Linked DNA regions of Homo sapiens: region 2 is linked to region 1. Evidence: promoter capture Hi-C in human tissues and cell types (Jung and others, 2019). All regions are on one chromosome and are shown on one strand. The core of a region is centred on a gene start or on the middle of the fragment in contact, and the rest is flanking DNA. Distances in the headings are between cores, read along the strand shown.

Region 1 (6,455 bases), core at 2,409-4,908:
ACACTTGTGTGGCTACTCAAGAATATAGATTTTATTTTGCAGTGAAATTATAGAAAAAAATAAAGAATATTGATTTTAGACTGAGCATAGTAGCTTATGCCTGTAGTCCCAGTACTTTGGGAGGCCTAGGTGGGAGGACCACTTGAGGCCAGGAGTTTGAGACCAGCCTGGGCAACATAGCCCAACTCTGTCTCTACAAAAAATTAGTTGAGTGCCGTGATGCACACCTTTAGTCCCAGCTACTTGGGAGGGTGAGGTGGGAGGAGAGCTTGAGCCCAGGAGTTCAAGGCTGTGGTTTGCTGATTGCGCCCCTGCACTCCAGCCTGGGCGACACCACAAGATCCTATCTCTAAAGAAAAATAAAAATAAATAAATAAATTAACTGCCTTAAAAACATTAGCCAGGTGCGGTGGCACACACCTGTAGTTCCAGCTACTCAGGAGGCTGAAGTAGGAGGATAGTTTGAGCCCGAGATTTGGAGGCTGCAGTGAGCCACAATCACACCATTGCACTCCAGCCTGGGTGACAGAGGGAGACCCTGTCTCAAAAAAGAAAAAAGTGGGGGGGGGGGAAGACTATCAACTTCAGAAGTAGATGAAATATATATTTAGTAATCTAAGTATCTACATAAAGATACTATGTTTGACTCATTGGCAGGTATGAGTTCATGGCCCAGCGTTCTTTATTAAAATAACAGCTTTCATAGTACACGCTGTGGTTACGTCATTTTTCTTTCAGAGTATTATTACCTTTTAAAAGCTTCTTAAATCCCAAGTTAAAGCTGTTACATTCTAACCCAGTCTCAGAGCTGATTGGCTCAAAACCTCTGTGGGCCAGTAATGCCACATTACCCCGGAGGGGCGGGCAGCGCGGGGGTCAGGGAGCTGCCAAAGCCAGCCCTCCTACTGGCCAGCACGCACATTCCAGGGGATAAATAGGATTAAGTGCTCTAAAGAGGATTCCCAGCCCTCCTGCAAAGGAGGTTCAAACACTCTGGTCTAGTTCTGAACAAAAATAAGCCCCAGAGAAGGAGAAAGTGCCTGTTTAAACACCAGGTGGCCCTACCCCAAGCCTCTGCTCTTCCTCTTACCCCCATCTCCGGGTGGCTGGGGAGAGCCCTTTTCCGCAGGCAAGTGTGCGCACTGGATCCAAGTCCGTGAGAGTAGGTTCAACCCACCCTCTTTGGTTTCCTAAATAGGGTCAGCCCCTGAGCGGCAGTGGGAGGTCATGACCTCAAATCTCTTCTAGCTGCTCTTGGGGACGAATGGATAAACTCTGCTAGGAAGGGCTGTAGCGCGTCTTAGAGAAAGCCCTTTGTATGAACTGCTCTCGGGACACTCTCCTAAATTTAGGCCCTGAAAGATTAAGGTAATAAAAGCTGCTGACATTTGATTGCAATTTTTCTTGTCCGGGAAACAGACCAACCACATAGAACCAAACAGCGTCCCTCTCCAAACTTCACTCCACCCCACCCACCTTTTCAAACTGTCCCACGCAGAAAGGGGGCGACGCTGGCAGGGGTGGGCACCGAACTCGGACTCCCTGTAAAGACGCCCCAACAGCACATGTGTTAACTCATTAACTCGGAGGGATCTAGGGTCACTGTGACGGTTTTCTATTAATAGGGAATAAAGCTCCTGCAGACGTTAGCGGTAATGCCCTGACGGCCGGCGCAAAGTTAACTCCTCCCGGGCCAGCAAGAGGAAACCGTGTCCTGCCCAGGCAGATGTGCACTGGAAACGCGCGTGTACCCATGCACACACGGGGTTTTAGGACCACTCCCCTTGCACAGGCCAGACCCCACACCCATCCCGAGTCTTTTCTCAGGGGAGGGAGCGGCAGCAGCAGGCGGCCGTCGGGTGTCCGTCAGCTCAGCTTCGCCACGCACACGGCTAGGGCCACAGCCGCCAGCAGCACGGCGCCGAAAAGGATGGCGGCCAGGGCCTTCCTGGGGTCGCAACCCCCCCCGCGCTCCTGCAAGGACACGACCGAGGAGGGGCCGGCGCTGACCGTGGACAGGAGCTCGGCGCCCGCCGCCTGCCGGGCTTGCACGGTCCAGCGGGGCACGTTGACCTTCATCTCCATGTTGTCGATCATCTCGCCCACCTGAAGGACCTCGCGCTCCAGCTCCCGCAGGTCCGCGACGTCGAAGTCGCCCTCCGCCTCGAGCCGCAGGCTGCGGGTGCTCAGCGCGCGCGCCGCCACGCCGGAGGAGGCGCCAGCCACACCTGTGCGCACCAGCGGCCGCCGCGGCGCGTGCAGCGGGAACGCGGCGCCCAGCTCCAGCGCGCGTCGCATGTCCGCTTCCAGCAGGTCCAGGCAGCCCGAGAAGGCCACCCAGAGCCGCTCGAACTCGGCGCGCTCGTCGGCGGCCAGGCCCCGGTCGCGCAGCACAGCAGTCAGCCGGGCGCAGGTGGACACCGCCAGCTCCTGCGCCTTCTGGCGCGTCTTTTGCAGCTCCTGCCGCAGGTTCTGCGAGTCCGCCGAGCCACCGACGGTCAGCACCAGGTGGTGGTAGCACGCAGTCGTCTTGTTGAGCCCGTCCAGCAGCGCCTTGCACTCCTCCCTCGCCATCGCGGTGGGCTCCGGCTGGGCCCGGCCGCCCGCGCCCGTTAGCCTCCCCCTCAGCGCGGCAGGATGTGGCTAACCCCCATCCCGGCCTTGGGCCGCGCGGCACGAACGCTCTTCATGGTCCGTGACTCGCTCGGCGCTACCGCCAACGTCCACGGAGCCCGCCCGGGACCCTCGACGTGCGCCTCTGCGGACGGGGCGCGCAGAGGGAGCCCCGTTAGCGGTCCCCCGCTCCCTCGTCCATCCTCCCCAGGCGCACTCCGAGTCACACGTCGTGTCTCTGCACCGCCCTGGCCTCCACGGTGGCTCCCTGCGAAGCTGAGGGTGCGGTCCCCATCCTCCGTGGGTGCCAACTCCGGGGCAAGCAGGCTGCAGAGCCGCGCGCTCCGCCTTAGGCGCTGCCAAGGGCGGCCGGGTAGGGTTTCCTAGGACCCGCCCACCCCGCTCGTCCCGGCCGGAGCTGCCACCCCCTGGATCAGTGGTAGGCGGGGCTCCACGCGGGGAGGTCACGTGTGGGTGGCCCATCCCTCCCTCCCCTTCGCCCCATCCGAGTTCTGGAATGTTAGCGCTCGGGAGATCCAACCCGTTCTATTTTACGGATGGGGAAACTGAGGCCCAGGTAAAAAGCGGGCCAGGCTCCCGCGGAGTTTTTGCCTGTGATGGGACTAGAACCCAGCTATACTGACTCCCGGACCCTGTCGGCGACAGGACGTCGGGTGCCCCGCAGGACTGGGCACCTCCGTGCCCCAAAGCGAGCAGTGACTGGCAATCCGAGGGGCTGGGCGCCGCCGGGGTCAGGTGTCCCTGCCGCGTTGCGCTCACGTTGGTCGGTGCTTCCAAGCGCTAACCCCACCTCTAGTGTCAGCCCGGCTCCCAGCCCCGCCCCTCACGTTCTGGGCACGCGCAGTTGCGGGCGTGGGGCGGGGCCAGCTGGAGTAGGAAGCGTAGGGAGCCGCCTGAGCCCCGCCCCCGGCTGGGCTGGACTCCATGATTGCTCTGCGTACACGTCACTCTGGGAAACGACGGTTTCTCATTGGGTCAGCTGTGGCGCGGCTCCGCCCCACGGCGGAGTAAGGGGTGGGCTATAGGGCCAGATCGCCGCGCGAGGGTGGTGGGCATCGAGGTCCCAGCAGCGGACGAGGGAGGTGCCGCCGTCGCCCAGGATGGGCTGGGAATGAAGCGATGTAGCCTTTTAAGTAAGTGTCCTCGCGCTGGCCTCCTCCTGCGCCTCCCCTCCCGCGGGATGGCTGCGCCTCGGGGCGCGGCGGCCGGGCGGGGCCCGGAGAGTGAGGGGGGAGGGGCTCCCTGCTCTCCGGAGTCCGCTCCCGGGTCCGCCAGGTGGCCCCGCGCCGCCCCAGCCCCCGCGTCCCCAGGTGGGTGCCCGGTGCGCAGCCGGCGCGCCCTGCCCACTCCGCCCCTCGGGTCTGGAGGAGGGGAGCGGTCGGCGCGGAGAATGCACCCTCCGAGCCTCGCTGCGTCGACACCGGCGGGTGTGGCCGGGGTGCCGGGTCCGGCGGTTCGGATCTGGCGGGGCGCGGGGCGGTCGCCGCGCGGTTTCCCGGAGGCCTAGGGTCTGCTGGAGGGGAGCGGCGGGTGGGGGTCCGAGCCGCGCGCGCAGCGGTTGTGGTTTCCGGGGGGTGATGAGGGCGCGGAGCGGGGAATCCCTGGCTGCCGGCCTCTCGCAGGGCGGGGGGGTCTCTGCATTCCCACAGGTAAAGATTGTTAAAGGAAAACTCTTAAGCACCGAGAGATGTTCCGGATTCTGAGTCTGTTCCGTCTTGTGGTTGAAAATGGACTGCCCAGGAGCACACGAGCCACGCGGTGCCCCCTTGGCTGCCCCACGAGGTGCAGGGGACGTGGGCACTCGCGGCCTGTGCTGGGCGAGGGAGCAAGGGACGGGTCTTCGCTGAGGATTTAGAGCATGCAGGGAACGAGGGCTGCTGGCAGTGCTGGAGGGACTGTGAGGCTGCAGAGAGCTCAGATTTTACAAGTTGATGGGTTTCATGGATAGAGGCCCCTATTTTGATTAAAAAATGCACTCTTCCCACTGGCCGAAGAGTAGAGCAGTGGATATTTTTTTTCTTTTCTTTCTTTTCGTTTTTTTCTTTTTGAGACAGGGTCTGGCTCTGTTGGCTAGTCTGGAGTGCAGTGATGCCATCATAGCTCATTGCAGCCTCAAACTCCTGGACTCAAGCAATCCTTTCACCTCAGCCTCTGTAGTAGCTGGGACTACAGGCGCATGCCACTATGCACGGCTAATTTTTAATTTTTTTTTTTTTTTTTTGTAGAGATGGAGTCTAGCAGGTTGCCTAGGCTGGTCTTGAACTCCTGGACTCAAGCCATGCTCTCGTCTTGGCCTCCCAAGGTGTTGGGATTACAGGCACTAGCCACCACGTTTTGCTGAGCAGTAGCTGTTACGTTTCGAGATCAGCCTGGCATGAGGACTGGTGTTGAGGTGGCCTAAGGGTCCGGTGTACTGAGCCCCGGGGCCTGCTGTCACCCAGGGGTCCGTCCTTTAACTGGGTGAGCAGTAGGCTGGGTGTTTGCTGCCAGGGCTTGGGTACTCCTGGCCTTGACCATTGTGTGGAAGGGGGGTTCTCAGCCACCCACACGCTACATAGGGTCGTTCCCAGGGGGATAGTAGTTTTCAGGACAAAATGGGTGGAAAGAGGGAAAATACTCTTTCCCTTCGGGGGAAGCTTTGGAGACAGCAGAGGGTGAGGAAGCTGCAAAGGTGGCCAGAGGCCAGATGTGCCAGGTCCTGAGCACCTAGCAGAGAAGTTGAGGGCTCACCTGGTGGGGAGTGCAGGGGAATCCTTTGAGGAATCCTGCAGAGCTCGGCGCTGGAAAGATCGCTTTGTTGTGTTGCTGGTGGACAGGCGTGAGTGAAATCCAGGGGGCAGATCCAGGAGGCACAGCCCGTAGGCCTTGGAAGGAGGGGATGCAGGATGGGAGCAGGAGCAGAGACTTCTTCTGACCAGCCATAGGGACAGGAATGCACCTGGGGATCTGACATTGGATAGACTTACATTCCCAAGTTACACCCAGTCTTGCCTGGTGACCTGAAATAATCTTGGCCGGCAGCTTCCCTGGGAGGGCAGGCAGAGGTGTCTGCAGAGGGCCGGGGGTTAGGGTCTCCGTTGTGCCTCTTTGTGACTGTTAGACTGTGTCTCCCTCACCAAGACAGCTGCTGGGTCTTTGTTAGTGATGTTTCTGTGTCCCAGTTAAGGTTTCTGTGGCATCTGCCCTGCTGGGGCTCTTCCTGTCTGTCATTTGCCAGCATTAGGTTGGTGTCCAATGACTCCATCCTCTCATAGAGGAGTGGAGGAATGTGACCATGTCATGATAGGTACCAATCCTAGAAAGGATTCAGCCCAGAAGGATCCAGACTTGATTTGTCCTGAGGTTGATTCTCCATCTGAGGAACACTGAGAAGCGGCCCTAGAGCTCCTGCCCATCTGCCCAAGATACTGGTGGAGGGTGCATGGTGGTTCTTCTCCCTGTGGTCCGGGAACAGGGTGATGCGGTGGCATTCGGAGGGGCTGTTGTGCTCCTCCAAACTTTCCCGCTCCCTGCATGGTCCCGCCCTGGTTCCAGTCCTGGCTTCTCTCTAGCCCTGCCCATTCCAGCTATCACTGTGTTGGGCTGGCACTGAGCATCCTGATTGTTTTGGGCTTTTTGCCTTTGTGCTTGCTTGGCTATGACCTGGGGTTAGCCCCTCACCTACCCTGGATATGGACAGTGGAGTTCCAGCTCTTGTGAGAGATGACCTCTCCCTGGGAGCTGGGGCTTCCTCTTAATGCCCCACTATCGTTTTGTTCAAGTGGGTGAGCAGTTACTCCATCTCTGCAGGGAACCAGGCGCAGGGCTGGGTGCTTTAATGA
Region 2 (6,455 bases), core at 1,432-3,931, 370 kb before region 1:
AGGGAGACACTCTTCTGCTGGTGGTAAGGTGGCTGCAACTGCTCAGTGTCACAGCCTCCCAGGTTCAAGGCCAATGAGGACCTCTTCCTGATGGGTTTCGATTGACCCTGATCTTCAGGCTTTGGTTTTCCAATGGGCCAGGCAGAAGTCAGATGTTCTTCCCTTTGGAAAGGATGTTGGGGGAGCATGGATTTACACACACACCCCTGCCCCCCACCAGGCCATCATGGGCTATGAGGCGGGAGAGTGGGCTGGCATCACTGTTCCCCCAAAAGATGTGGGGTGATGGTGGGCAGCCATCACCCATGAAGGGGTGTCTGGGGGTTGCATGCATTCCTACCGCTCACACCGCCTCACCGCTCATCCTGGAGCAGCAGGAAGGACAGGGTCTTAAATCCCACCCCAACTTTTACTGCCTGCCTCTAGGATCTCAAGTTGCTCATATAGCCTCCTTGCTGCAGAACCATGGGATCCGAGATGCTGTACCAGGGTCCACATAAGCGGGCCGACCCCAGGAGTTGCCTGTAAAGCTGGTGATGACACGGGGGTTCACTCAGTACTTGCTTTTCTTGGGTGTTGGCTGTTTGCCCACTCTTCAAGTTTCGGGACTGACGGAAATGTCCGAACCTTAGTGTGGGAAGGGAATAGACTCTGTGGAGGAGAAAGTCTCACTTCACTGTAGAACTTGTCAACAGCAGATCCCGAGGTCAGGACAGCTCAGTTGGCCCCACAGGTGTGAGAGGTTTAGCCCCAGTCCCTGGTGCAAACCCTCACTCCAGTCTCAGAGCGGCTTTGTGTTCTGTTGAGAACCAATCCCTGTCTCTGAGTTGCAGAGGCTATTCTGGAAGCTGTTTGTTCAGGGCTAAGGTCTCGTTATTACACAAGATAGGGGGTGGGGTGAGAAATGTATGGGTGGGGATGGTGGACCCGCCACCTTGTCCCCTACAGAGCAGCCCCTGGCAGGGGCTAGTAGATGGCCAATAGTTTCTGGTGATGCCAGGGAGTCTTTCTGACAGTCTTGTCCAGATTTACCTCTCAGGGAAGTTTCCACACACAGCCCCGTGGGTGTTTCTTGTGTTCCCCAGCAAAGCCCAACATTCCTACCTGTCAGGAATAAGTAATGTGGTTTCGGGCCCAATTACTCAGTCAAATCTAACCCTAAGTGTTCCTATGCCTTATCTAGAAACCTGACCACATATCTATGGGCTGGTTAGGGCGTACTGATTCCAGGCCAGCAGAAGTTGGGGAAAGTATACGAACAGAAAAAAAAACATTCTTATCCGTAGTTTGGAATGGCTGCTTATCTGAGCTCTGGGAATGTACGTAAAGGAATTAGTTATTCAAGCTTCCCTGTAAAATGAAACACAGCAGTGGTGATCCAGGTAATTCAGAGTCAAACTGAATCGTCGTCATTTTTGGAAGTGGAAAGGAAAGAGATGAACAGTTATTTTAGTTATTTAATATTTAATTATAATAGCTTAACATTAAAGTTTTTTTTTTTTTTTTTTTTGAGACTGAGTCTCGCTGTGTCACCCAGGCTGGAGTGCAGTGGTGTTATCTTGGCTCACTGCAACCTCTGCCTCCCGGGTTCAAGTGATTCTCCTGCCTCAGCCTCCAGAGTAGCTGGGATTATAGGCGCATGCCACTACGCCCAGCTAATTTTTATATTTTTAGTAGAGACAGGGTTTCACCATGTTGGCCAGGCTGTTCTCGAACTCCTGTCCTCAGGTGATCTACCCGCCTCAGCCTCCCAAAGTGCTGGGATTACAGGCGTGAACTACTATGCCCGGCCAAAGATATTTTAATCTTAAATCTGAAGAAAGACAAAATTGGAAACCGTTTAATGCTTTAAACGATATTAATTTTAAAATCCATTCCAGGGCTGGATGCCATGGCTCATGCCTGTAATCCCAGCACTTTGGGAGGCCGAGGCGGGTGGATCACCTGAGGTCAGGAGTTCGAGACCAGCCTGGCCAACACGGTGAAACCCCATCTCTACTAAAAATAGAAAGATTAGCTGGGTGTGGTGGTGGGTGCCTGTAATTCCAGCTACTCAGCAGGCTGAGGCAGGATAATCACTTGAACCCAGGAGGCAGAGGCTGTACTGAGCTGAGATCGTACCACTGCACTCCAGCCTGTCTACAGAAGCCAACTCGAATTCCGAATATCTGTGCAATTTGAACTTGGGGGAAAGTGTCCTTGCGAGACAGGGAAAATTAGGTTGTGGGGCTATGTGGGGGATGGGTGGTGGTGACCTGATGGGAAATGAGAATGAGAAGTCTTTTATTTTTATTATTATTTAAAAATTTTTATTATTATTTGTAGAGACAGAGTCTCACTCTGTTATCCAGGCTGGAGTGCAGTGGCGCAATTGTAGCTCACCGCAGCCTCAAACTCCTGGCCTCAAGCGATCCTCTGGCCTCAGCCTCTCAAAGTGCTTGGGATTACAGTTGTGAGCTACCATGACCATTCTGGCCAAGAATGAGAAATCTCTGTGGAAGGAGAATACTGGGATTCCTGAGGAGGTTTCCGCTATAGATAACTCACATCTCCCTCCCTGGGGTCCAGGCCATGGGTGTGGCTTGGGCAGAGGTCGGAGAGGCCAGGTGTGTGCAGGCCTGAGATGTGACTCAGGGAGAGAGAAAGGGCAGTCTCTTCACCACGTAATACTACCCGCCAGACCGCTCCCAGGGAGTAACCGCAGTGGGCAGGACCTAGAGATAAGCGGCAAAGAGGAATGTGGGCGTATCCCAGGTCCTGAGGCTTCTACCTGTCTGGGGTGGGAAGAACACCATTCAGCTAAAATGCAGCTTTTATTCTGATCTTAAACTTTTAGCGTGAAGCGTTGTAATCCAAATACCCCAGGGCACAATGGTCAGAGAACACAGACAATTTGTTGAAAAAGAAATTAAAGTGTCAAGATTATATGGAAAAACCTTTACCTTCACTGTTATAATAAACATACAAATTAGAAGAATGAGCTATCTATTTTTGCATGTCAACTTGACAGAAATTAAAAATAATTTTCAACCAGACAGATAAAAAGACAATCCAGTTTAAAACTGGGCAAAGGAGAGCTGGGTGTGGTGGCTCACACCTGTAAGACTAGCACTTTGGGAGGCCAAGATGGGCAGATCACTTGAGGTCAGGAATTCAAGACCAGCCTGGCAAAAAAATGGTGAAACCTTGTCTCTACCAAAAAATGGAACAATTAGCCGGACGTGGTGGCATGCACCTGTAGTCCCAGCTGCTCAGGAGGCTGAGGCAGGAGAATCACTTGAACCCAGGAGGTGAAGGTTGCAGTGAGCCAAGATCATACCACTGCAGCAGTCCAGTCTGGGTGACAGACTGAGACCCTGTTTCAAAAAAAAAAAATGGGCAAAGGATCTGAATTGATATTTCTTCGAAGAAGATATACAGTTGGCCAATAAGTTCATGAAAAGATATTCAACATCATTAACTGTCAGGGAGACACAATTCAAAACCACGATGTGAGACAGCACACACATAAGGTAGCTGTAATAAAAAAGATAGACCAGCACCTGTATTGGTGAGATGTAGATGAATTGGAACTCTCATCCTGTTAGTTGGGTTGTAAAATTGTATAACCACTTTGAAGAGCCTGATAGTTCCTCAAATCATTAAACATAGAATAAATCATATGATCTAGACCGGGCTCAGTGGCTCACGCCTGTAATCCCAGCATATTGGGAAGCCAAGCCAAGCGGATCACTTGAGGTCAGGAGTTTGAGATCACCCTGGCCAACATCATGAAACCCGCCTCTCTACTAAAAATACAAAAATTATCTGGTCATGGTGGTGCACGCCTGTAATCCCAGCTACCCGGGAGGCTGAAGCAGGAGAATCGTTCGAACCTGGGAGACAGAGGTTGCAATGAGCCGAGATCGAGCCACTGCACTCAAGCCTGGACGACAGAACAAGCCTCTGTCTCAAAAAAACAGAATCAAAAATAAAAACAAAACAAAAAAACCACCTGATCTAGACATTTTATTTCTATATTTATAGCCAAGAGAAACAAAAGCACATATCCATATAAAACCTTGTACGCACATAAACAGCCTTATTCGTAATAGTCAAAAAGTGAAAACACTCCCCATGCCCATTGTATGATGAATGATGAATGGATAAAGTACACAAGTGTGGTGTATCTATGTAATGAAATCTTATTCAGGGACAAAAACGGACAAAGTTCTGATACATGCTACAACCTGGATAAACCTTGAGAACATCATGGCAAATGAAAGAAGCCAGATGCAAAGGCCACATATTATATGATTCCGTTTATATGAAATAATCTTGAATAAGCAAACCTGTAAAGACAGAAAGTAGATTGGTGGTTGCCTAGGGCTGGGGTTAAGGGGAAAAGGAAATGAGGAGCGATGCTAATGGCTACTTGCTTTTTTTTTAGGCTGATGAAAATGTTCTAAAATCAGATAGTGGTTGATGGGCGTGGTGGCTCGCGCCTGTAATCCCAGCACTTTGGGGGGCTGAGGTAGGCAGATCACTTGAGGTTAGGAGTTCAGGACCAGCCTGGCCAACATGGCGAAACCCTGTCTCTACTAAAAATACAAAAATTAGCCAGGCGTGGTGGTGGGCACCTGTAATTCCAGCTACTCGGGAGGCTGAGGCAGGAGAATCACTTGAACCTGGGAGGCAGAGGTTGCAGTGAGCCGAGATTGTGCCACTGCACTGCAGCCTGGATGACACAGCAAGACTCCATCTAAAAAAAAAAAATCAGATAGCACTGATGGTTCTGTAACTCCTGAATATACTAAAAACCAATGAATTGTTTATTTTAAAAGGGCAAAACGTATGGTATATGGATTATATCTCCATAAAGCTGTTACTAAATAAAAAAAGTAGGCCAGGCGCAGTGGCTCACACCTGCCATCCCAGCCCTTTGGGGAGGCCAAGGCAGGTGGATCACTTGAAGTCAAGAGTTCAAGACGAGCCTGGGCAACATGGCGAAACCCTGTGTCTACTAAAAATACAAAAATTACCTGGACATGGTGACATGCACCTGTAGTCCCAGCTACTTGGAAAGCTGAGGCATGAGAATCACTTGAACCCAGGAGTCGGAGATTGCAGTGAGCCGAGATCGCGCCACTGCACTGCATCCTAGGCACGCAGCGAGACTCCATCTCCAAAAAAAAAAAAAAAAAAAGTAGATACTCAGTAACAGTGAGGGGGAAAGCGGTCACAAGGGTGTGGGTGCCTTTCTGTCCTGGAGGATGATTGGGCTGGCCCATGGGTAGCCCTGAAAGGTTTGATCTTATAACTCTGCCCTAGAGATATGTCTTTAATTAATTTATTTATTTTTGAGACAGCGTCTCACTTTGGTTGCCGAGGCTGGAGTGCAGTGGCATAATCTCGGCTCACTGCAACCTTCAGCACCCAGGTTCAAGCGATTCTCGTGCCTCAGCCTCCTGAGTAGCTGGGATTATAGGCGCCCACCACCACACCTGGTTAATTTTTTGTATTTTTAGTAGAAACAGGGTTTCACCATGTTGGCCAGGCTGGTCTTGAACTCCTGACTTCAGGTGATCCACCCGCCTTGGCCTTCCAAAGTTCTGGGATTACAGGCATGAGCCACAGTGCCTAGCTCAGACCTTGTCTCTAAAATAAATTACATAAATAAAATAGATGAGAAGGAAAGACCAATTCACAGTGGCTGTTTTGCAATTGTGTTGTTATGAGCGACTTTTCTTTATACTTTTCAATATTTTCTATGTAGATGCTTTGTTTTCAGAAAAGATTATTTTTAAAGTTAAACATTTTCCATTATATTAAACCCTGTCATCATTTTTAGAGTGGCCGACCTCTGAAGGGGCATCTCTTATTTTTCCTCAGGGCTGTAATCCCCTTGCACAAACCGGCCGGAGTAAATTGCAGAATCAAAGAGCTGCTTTGAATCAGCAGATCCTGAAAGCCGTGCGGATGAGGACCGGAGCGGAAAACCTTCTGAAGTAGGTGTCTTCTGGCTTCCCTGCCTCTCCTGAGTCCTAGTCATCTGTTCCCTAAACTCCCAGGCCAGGCTCTTGGTTTCAGCTTTGGGTTTCCTCCTCATTTCTGGCATCTGGAGTCGTCCCTTTCTTGCCTATAGCTTGGTTATGTTGAAAACAGATATTTTACCCCGCCTGTTTGTGTGTTTGGGGATTGGGTGGGTGGGAGATAGATGCAGACGGTGTGGCATTTGGCTTCAATTCAGTCAGCCATCTTGATGGGAAGCCCAATTTTTGTCTCGAGGTTTGTTTTCTGGCTTTCTCTGGGACTTGTCTATTTTCTCCACTGCCTGACACTATGCCTGGTGCAGAATTTGCTTGGTAAATGTTTATTGAATATATAAAGGAAAGAAAAGCAGAAAGGAAGGAGAGGGGATATTTCTATTGCCAGTGTCCACCTTGCTAATGAGAGGGCTCAGTACACCCCCGTGA

The links. Contacts are between HindIII fragments. The study calls those that stand out against the background at their distance.
Region 2: a fragment that was not itself captured here is called in contact with the fragment with the promoter of ANKRD27 in region 1 in 1 of the 25 tissues and cell types used here (IMR-90 fibroblasts).

What each region holds. Positions count from the first base shown.
Region 1 is chr19:32,672,383-32,678,837 of GRCh38, reverse strand. It overlaps ANKRD27 (ankyrin repeat domain 27), which reads left to right and starts at 3,658. Exons shown (of 29, transcript NM_032139.3): 1 at 3,658-3,767. It overlaps RGS9BP (regulator of G protein signaling 9 binding protein), which reads right to left and starts at 2,990. Exons shown (of 1, transcript NM_207391.3): 1 at 538-2,990. The coding sequence starts at 2,574. The coding sequence ends at 1,867. RefSeq lists enhancers at 2,294-2,343, 3,114-3,223, 3,111-3,730 and silencers at 2,744-2,803, 3,374-4,103, 4,124-4,173. The HindIII fragment of the contact is 6,498 bases long and covers 1-5,865 here.
Region 2 is chr19:33,043,781-33,050,235 of GRCh38, reverse strand. RHPN2 (rhophilin Rho GTPase binding protein 2) reads left to right here. Exons shown (of 15, transcript NM_033103.5): 2 at 5,872-5,987. Among named protein-coding and RNA genes, the nearest start is that of RHPN2, 18 kb to the left of the region's middle. RefSeq lists enhancers at 1,238-1,956, 6,366-6,455. The HindIII fragment of the contact is 8,752 bases long and covers 1-6,455 here.